Regions from separate parts of the Homo sapiens genome. Here region 2 is linked to region 1. The links are contacts of gene promoters, found by promoter capture Hi-C in human tissues and cell types (Jung and others, 2019). All regions are on one chromosome and are shown on one strand. The core of a region is centred on a gene start or on the middle of the fragment in contact, and the rest is flanking DNA. Distances in the headings are between cores, read along the strand shown. Region 1 holds the start of STX5 (syntaxin 5). Region 2 overlaps MARK2 (microtubule affinity regulating kinase 2).

The links. Contacts are between HindIII fragments. The study calls those that stand out against the background at their distance.
Region 2: a contact is called between a fragment that was not itself captured here and the fragment with the promoter of STX5 in region 1, in 1 of the 25 tissues and cell types used here (dorsolateral prefrontal cortex).

What each region holds. Positions count from the first base shown.
Region 1 is chr11:62,827,523-62,833,443 of GRCh38, forward strand. STX5 (syntaxin 5) reads right to left here and starts at 4,529. Exons shown (of 11, transcript NM_003164.5): 1 at 4,432-4,529; 2 at 3,497-3,740; 3 at 39-109. The coding sequence starts at 3,721. TEX54 (testis expressed 54) reads right to left here and starts at 5,319. Exons shown (of 1, transcript NM_001395459.1): 1 at 4,799-5,319. The coding sequence starts at 5,228. The coding sequence ends at 4,854. WDR74 (WD repeat domain 74) reads right to left here. Exons shown (of 11, transcript NM_001369450.1): 11 at 5,389-5,609. The coding sequence ends at 5,430. It overlaps STX5-DT (STX5 divergent transcript), which reads left to right and starts at 4,712. Exons shown (of 2, transcript NR_135084.1): 1 at 4,712-4,795. RefSeq lists enhancers at 4,440-4,529, 4,900-4,969, 4,990-5,039. The HindIII fragment of the contact is 7,048 bases long and covers 1-5,921 here.
Region 2 is chr11:63,900,376-63,904,451 of GRCh38, forward strand. MARK2 (microtubule affinity regulating kinase 2) reads left to right here. Exons shown (of 19, transcript NM_001039469.3): 9 at 184-303; 10 at 405-504; 11 at 582-694; 12 at 1,823-1,955; 13 at 2,226-2,407; 14 at 2,686-2,783; 15 at 3,611-3,772. Among named protein-coding and RNA genes, the nearest start is that of RCOR2, 15 kb to the right of the region's middle. RefSeq lists an enhancer at 2,439-3,251. The HindIII fragment of the contact is 6,882 bases long and covers 1-4,076 here.

The DNA of each region.
Region 1 (5,921 bases), core at 3,279-5,778:
CACTGTATCACCCCACCAGAAAGCTTCTCTCAACTCACTTGGCCATGAGGGTGAATTCACTGCGTTGTCGGACAGCACGCAAAGCTGGCTTATTTGTCTGGATTCCATTCTGAAAAGCAATGGCAGGAGGTGACAACTTTAGTTCTCCCTTCCCCAGTTCCAGCTTTCACTCTTCCTGAGGTGTCCACTAACCTATCTCTAGTGCTGGTGGCATCCATCAGATGATCTAGATTTATGAGTGGTAGTCGTTTAGAGTCCAGATTTGAAGAGCAGGTAGACCTGAGTTCAAATCTTGACTCACCACTTACTACTAGCTGGTGGATTTGGGGCGAGTTACTTAAAACATTCTAAATCTCTACTTTCTCTTCTATAAAATGAAGACAATCCACACATCTCCTATTGTTGCTAAGGTTAAATAACAAAAAGGCTGAAAAGTACTTCAGTCAACTACCTGGTACATAGTAAGCACTAAATAAATGGTATCTAGTATTGCCATTCTATTCCTCAAATCAGGAAATCAATAAGGATGATTGCAAAGCTCTTGGAGATCATACAGAAGAGCAGCTTTACCATGAGCTGAAAAACACTTCTTTATAACTTTTCTGTTTTTGAGACAGGGTCTCACTCTGTCTCCCAGGTTGGAATATAGTAGCATGATCATAACTTACTGCGGCCTCGACATCCTGGGCTCAAGTGATCCTCCAACTTCAGCCTCCCAAGTAGCTGGGACTACAGGGCACACCACCACACCTAGCTAATTTTTAACTTTTTGTAGAGATAGGGTCTTGCTATATTGCCCAGGCTGGTCTTGAACTCCTAGGCTCACGCAATCCTCCCACCTCAGCCTCCCAAAGTGCTGGGATTACAGGTGCCAGCCAGCATGTCCAGCCATCAGTAAAAATATTTAAAAATACAGTTACTCGGCCGGGTGCAGTGGCTCACGCCTGTAATCCCAGCACTTTGGAAAGCTGAGGCAGGCGGATCACGAGGTCAAGAGATTGAGACCAACCTGGCTAACATGGTGAAACCCCATCTCTACTAAAAATACAAAAATTTAGCCAGGTGTGGTGGCATGCACCTGTAGTCCCAGCTACTCAGCAGGCTGAGGCCGGAGAATCACTTGAACCTGGGAGGTGGAGGCTGCCGTGAGCCAAGATCCCACCACTGCACTCCAGCCTGGGTGACAGAGCGAGACTCCGTCTCAAAATAAATAAATAAATAAATAAACAAACAAACAAACAAATAAATAAATACAGTTACTTGGCCAGGTGCAGTGGCTCACACCTGTAATCCCAGCATTTTGGGAGGCCGAGGCAAGCAGATCACGAGGTCAAGAGACAGAGACCATCCTGGCGAACACAGTGAAACCCCGTCTCTACTAAAAATACAAAAATTAGCTGGGTGTCCTGGCACCGCCTGTATTCCCAGCTACTTGGGAGGCTGAGGCAGGAGAATCACTTAAACCCAGAGGTGGAGGCTGCAGTGAACCCAGATCACGTCACTGCACTCCAGCCTGGCAACAAAGAGAGACTGTCTCAAAAACAAACAAACAAACAAACAAACAAACAAACACAAACTGCTTACTCGGGTCCCACTGGGATTGTTGAAAAAAACACTCCCGGCTGGGTACGGTGGCTCACGCTTGCAATCCCAGCACTTTGGAAGGCTGAGGCGGGCAGAGCACCTGAGGTCGGGAGTTTGAGACCAGCCTGACCAATATGGAGAAACCCCGTCTCCACTCAAAATACAAAATTAGCCAGGCATGGTGGCGCATGTCTGTAATCCCAGCTACTTGGGAGGCTGAGGCAGGAGAATCACTGGAACCCGGGAGGCGGAGGTTGCAGTGAGCTAAGATCGTGCCACTGCACTACAGCCTGGGCAACAAGAGCGAAATTCCCATCTCAAAAATAAATAAATAAATAAATAAATAAATAGCACTCCCAAATTTTTTTTAAGAGGAGCTGAGTGCAGTGGCTGACACCTGTAATCCCAGCACTTTGAGAAGATAAAGCAGACGGATCACTTGAGCCCAGAAGTTCGAGACCAGCCTGGGCAACATGGTAAAACCCCATCTCTACTAACAAAACAGAAATTAGCCAGATGTGGTGGCACATGCCTATAATCCCAGCTACTGAGGAGCCTGAGGCAGGAGGGTTGCTTGAGCCCAGGAGGTCAGATGTTGCAGTGAGATGAGATAGAACCATTGTACTCCAGCCTTGGTGACAGAGTGAGACCATGTTTCCAAAAAAGGAGAGAGAGAGGCCAGGTGTGGTGACTCATACCTGTAATCCCAGCACTTTGGGAGGCTGAGGAGGGCAGATCACCTCAGGTCAGGAGTTCAAAGCCAGCCTGACATGGTGAAACCCCATCTCTACTAAAAAAAAATACAAAAATTAGCCGGGCGTGGTGACGGGCACCTGTAATCCCAGCTACTCGAGAGGCTAAGGCAGGAGAATCGCTTGAACCCAGGAAGAGGAGGTTGCAGTGAGCCGAGATTGCACCATTGCACCCCAGTCTGGGCGACAAGGCAAAATTCCTTCTCAAAAAAAAAAAAAAAAAAAAAAGAGAGAGAGGAAGAGACTGGGCCTCGCTCAGCCTTCTAAGTAGCTGGGACTACAGGCACATGCCACCACGTCCAGCTTTTTTTTTTTTTTTTCCTGTAGAAACAGGGTCTTGCTTTGTTGCTCCTGCTGGTCTCTAACTCCTGGCCTCAAGTCATCCTCTGGCCTAGGCCTCCCAAAGTGCTGGAATTACAGGTATGAGCCACCACATCCAACCCTAAGTGATTTTGATACAAATTACTGATCTAGGGCCAGGTGTGGTGTCCAGACCAACCTGGGCAACATAGTGAGACACTGCCTGTACGAAAAAATTTTAAAATTAGCTGAGTGGTGCATCCATGTAGTCCCAGCTGCTCAGGAGGCTGAGGAAAGAGGATCCCTTGAGTCTAGGAGTTCAAGACTGCAAGTGAGCTATCATCACACCACTACACTCCAGCCTGTTGACAGAGTTGAAAAACAGATCTCAAAACAAAACAAAAACAACAAATTACTTATCTAGAAAATGTCCTTAATCTTACAGAGATAAAAACTAATATGTAACTAGATTAACTAATTTTCTCATGGTTACAGAGCAAACTTATGGTAGAAGTATATTGGAAAATTCAAGGTGCATGTTTCTCAGCTAAAGGCTCTTCCTAGAACTTGTTCCTTATTCACACCAATTATATTGCAGCCAAGTACTCTCTGAAGTACTCCCTCCAGAATAGCAATCCTGCCCTCCAAAGGATTCCTCACAAAAAAAAGTCTAAGTCCTTGCCCCTAGTTAGCCAGCCGACCTCTTCTCTGTTGCTTATAGCAGACCCTACAGGCCCCATCCAAGCCTATCAGTTCCATCAGGTACCCCCCAAAATTACTTCGGTTAACAGTGGTGGAGCACAGTCCTTCCTAGATTTGAGTAAGGCTCACTCCTCGCCTTTTCCACTCCAGGTCCTTACCTGACGGGTCTGCAGCGACTTGCAGGCAGACAGAAACTCCTGGGTCCGATCCCGGCAGGACATGGTGTCGGGAGGGGGAGGGACGAGGGTCACTGGGGGGGGCAGAGGGGCGATGTCGCTGCTGCTACTGCCAGCAGTTGCAGGGGACAGGACCTGTGTCTTTGAGAGACCCAGGTAGACACCCTGATCCGTGTTCTTAGACCCGTAGCGTTTCCGCGGGATCATTGAGACGCATAACCTCGGACTGTTGTGGAGGGGAGAGTGTCATTCCCCAGGCAACTTCTTTACCCAAACTCCCCCGCCCCACCCCAATCAACAAATCCCCGAGCCCCTTCTGCACTTCTCGTGGACTTTCGCGCCCAGGACGCTCGCAAATCCTGGGGCGGACCAGCAGCGGAAAGGGCCCCGCTTTTCCCCTGTCCCAAGTCGAACCCGCTTCAGACTCTTCTTCCAACTTGGCTCTGGCGGCCAGAGCGCGGGCCGGGGACCCTGAAGCAGAGACAGGGCCAGAGCCAACCCCGTGGTCCTGAGACTCCGGCCCGGCCCGTGTAACTGCCCCGGGCCCTAACCCAGCCCTTTCGTTTCCGCGGTTTCCTTCGGCCCCTCCGGGAGGGCCAGTGACGGACCTCCAAAGACTGACACACTTCGGTGGGCGGAGGGGGAAAACCTCTGGGTGTTTATTTGAAACAGGAAGTCCCACCCCCCGCCCAAGGTCCGCCTTCTGGAAGACTTCAACCACTCATTAGCTAAGGCCGACGTCTCTCTCAACAGAGGCTTTCCTGATTGGACGGCAAGGAATTCGCTCACCCGGAGCCGGGCCGGCAGGACTTGCCCGCTCGCCCCTGATTCCCTTCCCCCCGCCAGTCGTCGCCCCCGTAAAACCACTGCCCCAGAGCTGACACGGCGGCCAGATCCCCTCTTAAAGCGAATCTTACCTCCCCTCTGCCGCCTGCCGCCGCCGCCACTTCCAATCTCACCGGCCGTCACTGCCTCCTCCCCGAGCACTGAAGCCGCCGAAACCCGACCAAAGACTGGAAGCGGCCACGTCACCTACACGTAACCCCACCCCCAGTGACGAGGGGGCGGTCCCACGCGTTTCAAGCCCAGCGACCCGAAAGACACGCCCCACACCCAAACGCAAGAGCGATCCCGCCCTCCCATTGGCTAAGGCGCCACCGTGACCCCGCCCCAGAGTACTACAGCAGGCGCTCAGGGGGCTGGGCCCGCCTCCGGGAAGGAGCCTTAAAGAACCAGCTGCCCGGTGGTGTCCGCGCCCAGTCCCCCAGAGTGGTCGTGCAGGTATACGTTAGAAATTTTATTCTCTGGAGGTTGGGGCGGACTGAGAGCAGGTCTGGGGTCATCCCTTCTCCGGCTCCTCCTGGTTGCCTTCTCGGATCGGACTCTCCTGCTTCCGAATCTGGTCTGGTTGCCTCTTGCTTGGCCGCGAGGAGCCCCGACGACCGAACGTGGATAGTCGCCGCCACAGCACGGTAATCAGAAGGCTTTCGTTCGACTTGTGATTCGGATGGTCCGGGGAGTTCAAGTCGATATCTTCGGCGCCTGAGGGGACGACGAGGCCTCTGAGCTCACCCCTACCCTCGGGAAGCCCCCTCTCACACTCCCTGGGCCCTCTTTGTGTGTCTGTGGTCTCATCTTCCCTGCCGTCCTCAGACTCTTCCTCCTTGGACTGCTCATCAGACATCTCAAAGTCCTTGTCTTGGCAGCAGCCCATGGCCCCGCGTGGCCCTGGACTCCGTGCCACCCACGCCAGCCTGCCTGCCTCCAGGCCCGGCTTTTGTGACATCAGATATCCCGTCGCCCCAGCTCAGGCAGCCCCCACCCCAAGCTACCCCTCATTCCTTTCTCCCATCACAAAAGGCTCAGGGTCATGGTGGGTGTTCAGCAGTTTATTTACAAAGTGGGCACAGGGGCGTCAGGGGCTGGTGGACCCAGGCCGCTTCTTCTTTCTCCGTCTCGTTTGGAGAGCTCCTTGGGGCTGCTCCAAACCCGAGAGCTTCCGCTTGGCAGCTGCCTCCAAGGATGCCCAAAGTTCATCTGTCTCTGTGTCTTCTAGGGGCACCTTGTTGGGTTCTTGAGGCTCTTGGGGCTCATCCTGGTGAGTGGGAAGAAAGCTTAGGAGTCAGGGGGGCCGGGCACGGTGGCTCCCACCTGTAATCTCAGCACTTTGGGAGACCAAGGCAGGAGGATTGCTTGAGCCCAGGACTTAGCGACCAGACTGGGCAACATAAGGAGACCCCATCTCCACAAAAAGAAGTTTAAAAAAAAAAAAAAAAAAAAAAAAAAAGAAAAGTAGTCAGGGGCACAGGGACAAACCCACAGGGAAGGAGACCCTGGCTGAGAAAGAATCCCTCTGGGTACCACCACCTTTATTCCCTGCTCCTAGAAAGCAACCCCATCCATGCTG
Region 2 (4,076 bases), core at 4-2,503, 1.1 Mb after region 1:
GTACGAGGGTATTTGACTTCACTTGCCTCTCTGGTGAGGTGTCTTGTCCCCAGGCTGTCTGCCTTCTTCCATATTTCATTTATGTCTGCTTTGCCAGGCTTAAGCTCTCAGGATCTTGGATATTAGGTTTCTTCCTTTGGCCTTGGGGTGATTTCAATTTTCTAACCCTGGATCCTCCTGCAGGAGCTGCGGGAACGGGTACTGAGGGGAAAATACCGTATTCCATTCTACATGTCCACGGACTGTGAAAACCTGCTTAAGAAATTTCTCATTCTTAATCCCAGCAAGAGAGGCACTTTAGAGGTGAGCAGTGGAGCCCAACTGGCGGAAGGGCCTGGGGTCCCCACAGAAACTTTCCAGCTGAGTTTCTTCCCCCTGCCCTTTTCCTTCTCTGTGCTCCCCAGCAAATCATGAAAGATCGATGGATGAATGTGGGTCACGAAGATGATGAACTAAAGCCTTACGTGGAGCCACTCCCTGACTACAAGGACCCCCGGCGGACAGGTGAGGCTGTGCCGGGCTGTGAGGTTAAGCTTGCCTAGGAGTTGAGGCCAGTCTTAACTGTATGTCCCCCTGTGCAGAGCTGATGGTGTCCATGGGTTATACACGGGAAGAGATCCAGGACTCGCTGGTGGGCCAGAGATACAACGAGGTGATGGCCACCTATCTGCTCCTGGGCTACAAGAGCTCCGAGGTGTGTGCTCCCCGCCCCATTCTCTGACCTGGCCAGCCTCACTGTCTGTAGCACCTATGCTTCTAACACCTGTTGAGGGCAGAAGCTCATCTCTGAGTAGGTGTGCTCTCTGCTCACCAATTTTAAGCCTCAGCTTTGGTGTCTAAGGTCCTCTGGCCCATTCACTGATCTCCATGAGTGAATTAATAGAAAGCTGGTAGGGTCGGTGTGGGACTGGGTCAGAGTTTCAATACGGGTGAGTTGATCTAGGTTAGTCTGCATTGATTAGATGTGTCTAGGTCATCGGCTAGCACTACTACATTGATCTAGATATCTTTGTGTCTCTTTTTGTATCTGGAAGTGTACATTTCTGGGTGTGTGTGTGTGTCTCTGTGTGTGTCTGATCGGAAGTTTGAGTCTGTTGCTTTTTTTTTTTTTTTTTTTTTTGAGACGGAATTTCGCTCTTGTTGCCCAGGCTGGAGTGCAATGGCAGGATCTTGGCTCACTGCAACCTCCGCCTCCCGGGTTCAAGCGATTCTCCTGCCTCAGCCTCCCAAGTAGCTGGGATTACAGGCATGTGCCACCATACCCGGCTATTGAGTCTGTTGCTTCTGTCTAGTGCTTTATGTTTGGGTGTGTGTATCTGTGTGTGTGTGTGTGTGTGTGTGTGTGTGTATGTGTCCGTCTTCCCGTCTGTGGATCTGGAGACTTTGTGATTGTTCTTCTGCCCATTTGGGTTTTGTTCATCATCTGAGTATCCCCACATGAACTCCCAGCCTCCCTGCCCTGCTCTCCCTCTGGTGGTGGGATCCTTAAGAGGCACCTGGTGACACTTGGTATAGGCCCATATTGCTCTGTGTTGAGGGGAGTGGACTTGAGTCTGGACATGTGTTCTTGCGGATGTTTGTGTCTCTGGGTGTGTGGGCTTATGTATTCCTTTCTGAGACTGTGTTTGTCAGTGTCTGTGTCAGAGCATGTGTGTCTCCAGGGTCTCCTCCAGGGGGGATGTATTGGTCTTACAAGTGGATGTCCGGTATGATCCTGGGGTGTTTGAGTGTTGGGAGAGGGCGGTATGTGTAAATGTGTCCATCCATAGGGATCTCCACATGACTTCTGCCCTCCCTTGAAGCTGTTTTCTGTTTCTTTCAGCTGGAAGGCGACACCATCACCCTGAAACCCCGGCCTTCAGCTGATCTGACCAATAGCAGCGCCCCATCCCCATCCCACAAGGTACAGCGCAGCGTGTCGGCCAATCCCAAGCAGCGGCGCTTCAGCGACCAGGGTAAATGCTTTTGGGAGTTGTAGGTGGGGACTCACCCCTCTCCAGAGAGGTTACAGGTTCTGTGGGGACTTGGGTAACACAACTAAGTTTCAGTCCTGGTTCAGCCACTTATTAGTAGTGTGGCTATGGGCAAGCCACTTCCCTTCCCTCGCCTCTGTGGAATGGGGGCTTGCTGGGTTGTTGGCCAGCCCTGTAGGAAATGAGCATGCGTGGGGCTGGCACTCAGTGGACCCCTTGGCCTTACCCATTCCCATCCTCCCTCTGGCCCAGCAGCTGGTCCTGCCATTCCCACCTCTAATTCTTACTCTAAGAAGACTCAGAGTAACAACGCAGAAAATAAGCGGCCTGAGGAGGACCGGGAGTCAGGGCGGAAAGCCAGCAGCACAGCCAAGGTGCCTGCCAGCCCCCTGCCCGGTCTGGAGAGGAAGAAGACCACCCCAACCCCCTCCACGGTGAGCCGCACCCCCCGCTCTCTCCTTCCTTCCTGCGGTGGGGCCTGCCCTCTCCAGGCAGCTCTTCTCTTAATTCAGACTCTGTTCCCTTTGGCTACTACTTCTGCTTATAGCAGGAAGCCTCGCTCCCAGCAGTAAATGCAGAATCCTTTCCTTAACCTACCACTGTCTGCTTCAGGTGGAAGGGACAGGAAGCCTGTTCCATGAACCTGGGGGGAGAACCTGGCTGTAGACCACTTTGGCTTTCTGATAGAACGCTTGCCCTTTATTCCCCACAGAACAGCGTCCTCTCCACCAGCACAAATCGAAGCAGGAATTCCCCACTTTTGGAGCGGGCCAGCCTCGGCCAGGCCTCCATCCAGAATGGCAAAGACAGGTGAGAGACCCGGGCCCTGCCTGCCTCACTCCCTAGGAGCCATGTCTCACAGGGTGATGTCTGTCAGCAGCACCGTCTCCTGTCCCTGCCAGCGCATTGCTCCCTGCTCCCTGGAGTTCCATCCTGGCTGTGTCCAGTCCAGCTTTCCCCTCCCCTATTCCACGCCATTGCCTCCTCCCCATCTTCCTCTGACTGCTACTTGCAGTTTGCCAAGTGTGGGGCTGACCGTGGCCATCTCAGCTACATGCTCGCTTCTTGACCACGGCCAGGGCATGGCAGCTGCCCTCCTCTAGACATGAGCAGCTAAGGCCTTGTGTTGGGGGTCCCAGCTCAGGGCAGAACCAAGAGATGCCCACCTTGAGGGGTGTACACATAGAGGGCGACTCCAGCCATCCCCATGAGACCAGAGCTCCCCAGCCTTCACCGGCCGCATTTCTTGGTGTTGCATTCCTGGCTCTATCTCTTCTGAGTTTATGAAAGTTTCCCCTCAGCAACACCCCACTCTTTCTGTAGAAGAAACTCTCCTGTTCTTAAAATTCTTAGGAGGCCAGTGCAGCCTGGAGGCAGCGGCCCCTTGTCTGCTCTCCTTCATTTCTGATTCCTCTTCCCAGGCACTGACCCACCTCGCTGCTTCCCGACCTCACTCACCTCCACTTCTCAGCCCCGCATTCCTCAGTTCTGACTTGCATCCCGCTGCTGCCCAGGCCTGACTTCTACCCTGCCAGAGCTCCCCAGCTCTGGCCCTTCCCCTGCCCTTGCTTCCTAATCCAGGCCTCCCGCCCTCACTCACCCCTAACACGGGCCTCTCCGCTGCTTTTGTTTCCTAGCCTAACCATGCCAGGGTCCCGGGCCTCCACGGCTTCTGCTTCTGCCGCAGTCTCTGCGGCCCGGCCCCGCCAGCACCAGAAATCCATGTCGGCCTCCGTGCACCCCAACAAGGCCTCTGGGCTGCCCCCCACGGAGAGTAACTGTGAGGTGCCGCGGCCCAGGCAAGTGTGCTGGGGCAGCTGGTGCACCTGCTGCCCTCAGCCCACCCTACCCCCTTGCCCCAACAATTTCTTCTTCCCACTTGGGGGTCCTGCTGTGTTCTTGTCATCTTAGCCACAAGAAATGGGTCTGTCCCCTGCGGCCAGGAAGTGGAGGGAACAAAAAAGAGCATTAATGCCCCTCTTTTCCAGTTCTCCCTCTCAGAACAGGTATGCAGGAAGCTGTCCTAAGGCTCCAAAGGGAAACCTTTTTGTTCTGAACCTTCCAGGGTTTCCTTAGGGACCCCGGGGATAGTCGGCATCACAG